Regions from separate parts of the Homo sapiens genome. Here region 2 is linked to region 1. Evidence: promoter capture Hi-C in 16 types of primary human blood cells and fetal thymus (Javierre and others, 2016). All regions are on one chromosome and are shown on one strand. Each heading gives the region's core, a stretch centred on a gene start or on the middle of the fragment in contact. The rest is flanking DNA. Distances are from core to core; before and after follow the strand shown. Region 1 holds the start of POLR2M (RNA polymerase II subunit M). Region 2 holds the start of ADAM10 (ADAM metallopeptidase domain 10).

Evidence for each region. The method cuts DNA at HindIII sites, captures the fragments that hold promoters and counts their contacts. A CHiCAGO score of 5 or more calls a contact.
Region 2: a contact is called between the fragment with the promoter of ADAM10 here and a fragment that was not itself captured in region 1, in 1 of 17 cell types (fetal thymus). The highest score is 7.8, in fetal thymus.

The regions. Positions count from the first base shown.
Region 1 is chr15:57,704,057-57,707,296 of GRCh38, reverse strand. It overlaps GCOM1 (GCOM1, MYZAP-POLR2M combined locus), which reads right to left. Exons shown (of 17, transcript NR_104371.3): 14 at 925-1,363. It overlaps POLR2M (RNA polymerase II subunit M), which reads right to left and starts at 583. Exons shown (of 4, transcript NM_015532.5): 1 at 342-583. The coding sequence starts at 454. RefSeq lists a silencer at 99-148 and an enhancer at 469-688. The HindIII fragment of the contact is 3,240 bases long and covers 1-3,213 here.
Region 2 is chr15:58,748,127-58,751,366 of GRCh38, reverse strand. ADAM10 (ADAM metallopeptidase domain 10) reads left to right here and starts at 1,660. Exons shown (of 16, transcript NM_001110.4): 1 at 1,660-1,887. The coding sequence starts at 1,833. RefSeq lists enhancers at 1,041-1,220, 2,311-2,440, 1,892-2,527 and silencers at 1,291-1,580, 1,911-2,200. The HindIII fragment of the contact is 2,079 bases long and covers 857-2,935 here.

The DNA.
Region 1 (3,240 bases), core at 344-2,843:
TGTTATGGGTTAGGGGTGCGGGCGACAAAAGGGTTTAGAAAGCAGACTCATGGAACCACCACAGTCCCCGGGTAAATAAAACCGACCAGGGGCTACTAACTCCCTGCAACGCCAGGTAGCCGTTCAATCCGAGCTATCCTCGCAGGCATACGTGCCTGGCCAGGAAGAGGCACGGCTCTGCCGCAGCAAGCCCTCCGTCCACTCGCCCGTAGGACTGAAGCGAATGTGACTGAGTCAAAGTCACCTTCCAGGGAAGGGAACAGAGTGCGGGAGGGGAGGGGAGCGCCCAGGGAGCTCGAGCTGAAGGAGCCTGGCGGAGACTCCGCGGGACCCCAGCTTACTCGTTGCGCAAAAGTCTCTCCTGGCGCTTCAACATTTCCCGCAGCTCCACCAAACTCCGCTGCGCCAAGTCCTCGGGAGCTTGGGGCTCGAAGCCGCGGGGCAGCGAGCACATTCTGCGCGGGCTGAGGCTGGCGCGGCGGCGGGCACTCGGCTTCCTCGGCAGGCCCCGCTACTAGCGCCGGATCCGCGGACGGCGGTGACTCCGGGGCACGAGCGGGAGTCGCCATTTTCCCGGAAGAACGGGGTCTTCTTCGAGCCGAATCGAGCTTTATTGAAATTCCGGAAACAAACACGGACTGGGAGAAGGGGGCGTCCGCAGGAGCGTTAAAGGGCGGAAGTTACGTCGGATGACGCCGGCTCCTTGGCTTGGCGCCCTTTCCCCTTGTGTGAGCATTCATGCGGTCATCAGCTGTTCGTCGGTTTATACAAAAAGTATTCAGCGCCAGCGTGACCTCACCAAGCACTATGTGTCAGTCAACAAATAGCAACGTCCTGTGTTATACTTGGGGTTTACAGAGTTGGCGGGGGGATGGGGGGAGGGAGAATCAAATTATGATATAATAGTAACGTTGGGATGGGCACCTGGGAAGATATCTCTGAGAAGTGGTTCAAGTCGAAACTTGAAAGATGAGCTGGCCATTAATAAGGTGGGAGAGAGTGCGGGACAGGATTTGGGAGACTCTGGCCTGTGCGTGGTGCCTCCGGCCTGTGCGTGGTGCCTCCTAGCTCAGCTTAGGGACGTCCTGAAATTGTTAAAGTTGGAAGGTTCCTCAGAATCAGCGATTTTTCTTGGGGCTCAATGCATTTGGAGAAGGACTTCATTTGTAGCACCGCCTCAAGCATTGTTAAGACATTTGGTGTTTCTGGCTTCTGCCTGCTAGGTGCTATGGCACTCCCAAGTCATTGCAACAATCCAAAATGTCTCCTCCAACATACATTTCCAAAGGCCCACAAGAGGTGATGAGGGAGTGGGAGCAGCTGTACAAACTCGTTGAGGACCTTTTCGAATTTTCTACTTTGCCTATAGAAAAACAGAGGCATGAAAACTGAAATAAATATTCCCAGGGCACAAAACCAGTAAGTGACAGCACCAGATTTCAAACTCAAAAGCCCAGCCCCTTTTCCAACACACCAATTTGAAAATCCCCTTCTTCACTTTAGGCCTATTTCCAAATGTGTAAAACTGTTGAAAAGACTTCCCTCCGCCCCCCCCCACCCCCGCCACCTCCCCAGCTGTTGAGAAGAAGGCAGCTTAATAGGTATTGGACACAGCTTTTACCTTCTCGTTATAGTTCAGCTACCAGAGGTGCATCCCAGTGGAAAGAGTAGGAAGACATGCAGTCACAGCAGATGTCACTTGGGAGGTTTGAACACCCCCATAACCCACCGCCCTCCCCCGATTTTTTGATATAGGAAATTGAAGTTGTCTCAATCCTGTGTAAGATGCTATATAAACACAAGCAGCTCTGTCCTAAAGAGACAGAAGATCTAGGTAAACTCCAAAGCTATTCCAGGGAGCACAATTGCAACCATTTATCTATCCCCCCAATCTGGTCCATTCTGATCAGATTCATTAATATATCAAAATAAGTTTTCTCTGTATAAGACTTGCTTTCAAGGACGTTAATAACGTGCTGCAGCATTGGCTGAATGAGAAATAGGTAAGGTCCTCGAGTCAGGTGGTTGTCTGTGGTACTGACAAAAAAAAAAAAAAAAGACTCCGTAAAATGTTGAAGAGATGTATTCTGTGCCAAATATGAGTGACCATGGCCCGTGACACAGCCCTCAGGAGATCCTGAGAACACGTGCCTAAGGTGGTTGGTGCACAGCTTGGTTTTATACATTTTAGGGAGACATGAGACATCAATCAAATACATTTAAGATAAACATTGGCTTAATCCACAAAGGTGGGACAACTCAAAGCAGAGCGGGTGTGGGGCAAGATGGGCTCCCAAGTTATAGGTAAATTTAAGTTTTTTTCTGATTGGTAATTGATTTAAAGGAATGTCTAGGTTAGCATAAGAACTTGTGGAGACCGAAATTTTATCATGCAGATGAAGCCTCCAGTTAGCAGGCTTCAGAGAAAGTAAGTTGTGTTTCTTATCAGACTCAAGGTATATGTGTTGATATTAAATGCTGTGTAGCTTTTCCTGGATTCTAAAAGAAAGAAGGGCATAATGAGGCATGTCTGACCTCAGCTTCCCATCATGGCCTAAGCCAGTCTTTTAGGTTAAATTTGGAGGACCCTGGACTACAGGAGGAAGTCCATTCAGACGGTTGAGGGCGGACCTTCAAATTTTATTTTTGGTTTACAGTGATAAGCACCCCGCAAGCCTCCCTCACCCCACCCCTGGACCCCAGCTGGAGGCCTTTATTTCTCCCACAGTAGTGAACTCCCCATGTGCTGATTGTAGGCCACAGGTGTCCCCAAGGCAAGGATGCCTTTCTTTTAGGCCTCAGAATTTTGCCCCCTTCTGTTACCCTTTTGTGGAAGGCTATCTCTTCTCCCCTTGCCAATTGTAAGTCTTGGCTGAAGTCTCACCTCCTCCCTGAACCTTCCCATGTTATTCCAAACCAAACTTCTCTTTCTTTTCAGCACAATTATAGGGCTTAGTTAAAGTTGGAACCTCACTGCATGAAGCATATTATACTTCTCTAATTGTGTTATGCATCGAGATTTCTTTTTCCTTTCCTAACAAAATTGTAAAGTCCTTTCTGTGAGGGAGCTATAATTGTACTTTTTCTGTCTCCTCTCAGGAACATAGCATGTAGTAATTGACACAATCTCCTTCTCTCATATTTTTTTCTCTACCTTTCCCCCATATTCCTCTTTCTCTTAATGAAATGTTTCTTATATGCAAATCTTAAGCTTTTTATATAATTAATCATCATTACTGT
Region 2 (3,240 bases), core at 411-2,910, 1.0 Mb before region 1:
GGCCAGGCTCGGTGGCTCCCACCTGTAATCCCAGCACTTTGGGAGGCTGGCGGGCGGATCACCTGAGGTTGGGAGTTCGAGACCAGCCTAACCAACATGGTGAGACCCCGTCTCTATTAAAAATACAAAAAATTTGCTGGGCGTGGTGGTGCATGCCTGTAATCTCAGCAACTTGGGAGGCTGAGGCAGGAGAATCGCTTGAACCTGGGAGGCAGAGGTTGCGGTGAGTCGAGATCACACCATTGCACCCCAGCCTGGGCAACGAGAGCGAAACTCCGTCTCAAAAAAAAAAAAATTCTCTTCACTTATGTTAATGGTAATAAATGGTATAAAATATACAGGTAACAGTATAGGAATTCCAGTTTATTACAGTATCAATAACATTAAGGCCGAGCGCAGTGGCTCACGCCTGTAATCCCAGCACTTGTGGGAGGCCGAGGCGGGAGGATCGCTTGAGTTGGAGGTTACAGTGAGCTATGATCACACCACTGCACTTCAGCCTGGCGAGACAGCGGATACCTTGTCTTTAGAAAGCAAAACAAAACAATTTACACACACACACACACACACACACTCTCCCTAATTCGGCTTGAGTTGGAGGTTACAGTGAGCTATGATCACACCACTGCACTTCAGCCTGGCGAGACAGCGGAGACCTTGTCTTTAGAAAGCAAAACAAAACAATTTACACATACACACACACACACACGCACACACACACTCTCCCTAATTCGGCCTACTCAAGCACGATACCAAATAGATGAAGAATATCTAATTAAATGGCCATAAAAAGTTCTAGTTCATGACATCCAAGTTTAAAGAATCAAAATGAGTTACGAGAAAACAAACACAAGCTTTAAGAAGTTGGGGAGAAGATGTGCGTGGATTCGCTTCAAAGATGTGACAGAGAGAAAAGAGGACATTTTCTGGACTGGAGATTCAAGACAGTCTGGTTCAGGTTGCATGCTTTTGCAAAGGCTAAAGCCTTAGTCTGTGACATAAATTTGTAAAGAGCTCGGAAAATTACATCTCGGACATGGTGTCTTTTTTTCCTGCTGCTTGAAGGTCTTTGCATTTATGTTCGCATCACTGGGGCAGCTGCCGCTATAATTACTGCTTGTTGGGACTTTTTGTTTACTTGGTAGCTGTGGTGCACCAAGAGAGGCAGAAAAAGAAGAAAAAAAACCTCTGTTACTTGTGACGTTAAGAAGTCGAAAGCAGCCCTGCTTACATCTTCCACGGACCATTTTAGCCCAAGGGAAGGTCCTCAGCAGCTCTAACACGTAGCGGAGCACTATCTCCGCGTAGGAGCGCTCCCGCCCCGGGGCGGGACCAGGACAAACCCCGCCTCCCAAGCCCAATCCCAGCTCTCCGCCGGCGGACAGGAAGCGGCGGCAGGCCTAGCAGCACGGGAACCGTCCCCCGCGCGCATGCGCGCGCCCCTGAAGCGCCTGGGGGACGGGTAGGGGCGGGAGGTAGGGGCGCGGCTCCGCGTGCCAGTTGGGTGCCCGCGCGTCACGTGGTGAGGAAGGAGGCGGAGGTCTGAGTTTCGAAGGAGGGGGGGAGAGAAGAGGGAACGAGCAAGGGAAGGAAAGCGGGGAAAGGAGGAAGGAAACGAACGAGGGGGAGGGAGGTCCCTGTTTTGGAGGAGCTAGGAGCGTTGCCGGCCCCTGAAGTGGAGCGAGAGGGAGGTGCTTCGCCGTTTCTCCTGCCAGGGGAGGTCCCGGCTTCCCGTGGAGGCTCCGGACCAAGCCCCTTCAGCTTCTCCCTCCGGATCGATGTGCTGCTGTTAACCCGTGAGGAGGCGGCGGCGGCGGCAGCGGCAGCGGAAGATGGTGTTGCTGAGAGTGTTAATTCTGCTCCTCTCCTGGGCGGCGGGGATGGGAGGTGAGGCACGACTGCGAGCGCCGGGGGCGCCGCGACCACGGCGGAGCGGCGGCCGGGCCGAGCGGAGCCCAGTCGCGCCTCGCGGCGTGCGCGTCAGTCAGCCCAGCCGGCCAGCGGCGCCACTCTGGCGGGCCGCGCTCCCCGCTCCCTATTGTCCCCCGCGCCCCGACCGCTTTCCCTTCGGTGGCGGGCCGAGGAGGCTCCCAAGCCTCCGGCGAGGCCTTCCCCGCCCCCCACCGCCCTGGCGGCCCCGGGAGGCGGGGGTCGCCTCCCAGAGAAGCGAAGTCGGGGCATCCGCGTCGCCTGGTGAGAGCGGTGGAACCCAGGCTGGTGGCTGCATCCCTCCAGTCTGCTCGGCGGGCGCCGGTGCAGGCAGCCGCAGCGAGGCTGGCGGTCTCGCCGTCCTCGTTCAGCGCTCATCCTGCTCACCATTCCTCCCCCAGCCCCTGCCCGGTGGCGGATTCCGAAGTCCTCTCCGCCGCCGAGACCCGCCGCGCAGACTCGTGGGAAGTTGTGTTGTTTGCAGCTGGGCTCGTGTATTGTTCTTTACCCGGCGCGCCGGTCCTGACCGACCCCATTCTGCAGAGGGGCCGCCCGTGGAGTGGCAGCAGTCATCACCCGCTTATCTGAGACTAGTGGCCTCGGTTCTTCCTGTGTCCTGTGTTTGGAGAGAGATCACAGGAGGGTGTGTTGGTGTTCTTGAAAACATTCTGTCGCCCAGGGGAAAGGGTTTGGTCGGGAGAAGGGTAAACCATTTGGGGATGTTCTTTGATTTGTAGGCTGGATTGGGTCTCTTAGAGTAGAAGTTCGGTCCCTGGGTGACCCAACTTGAAGAGTTTCGTTAAACTTTCAGGTGGAGTAGATGTACAGTGTAGTTAGTGGATTGTCAAAACAGTGCCCCCTCCCCCCTGCACATGAAAGTCAAATTTGCTAAAAGCATGTCATTTCTTGTTTCGGGTTTTGAAGACAACGATTTTTATTTCCGGTGTGTTCTAGGACCAGCTGCATCATTTTATTCTTGCTTAAAGTGCTTTATTTTAGGTAAGCTTTTTGACTTGCCCCAGAGTAAACTTAAAAACCTCAAGGTGTGCCTAAAAGCAACGATTGAAAAAATTTGAGGAATGCTTTGGATGAGTGTCTGTAGCCTTTGATAATTTAGAAAATATCTATTTCATGTAATGTATTGTTTCTGTTTTTTTCTTTGCCACTTTGACTTATGACTGCAGGACCAAGTGTATTTCTGTCCTGTATTCTACCGAGTCCGAGGGTGGTACTGCGTAGGCAGACTTCTGTTATAGTTTGTAGTGTTCATTTTTTTGTTACACGTTTTATTTAATTTTTTTCAATCCAATT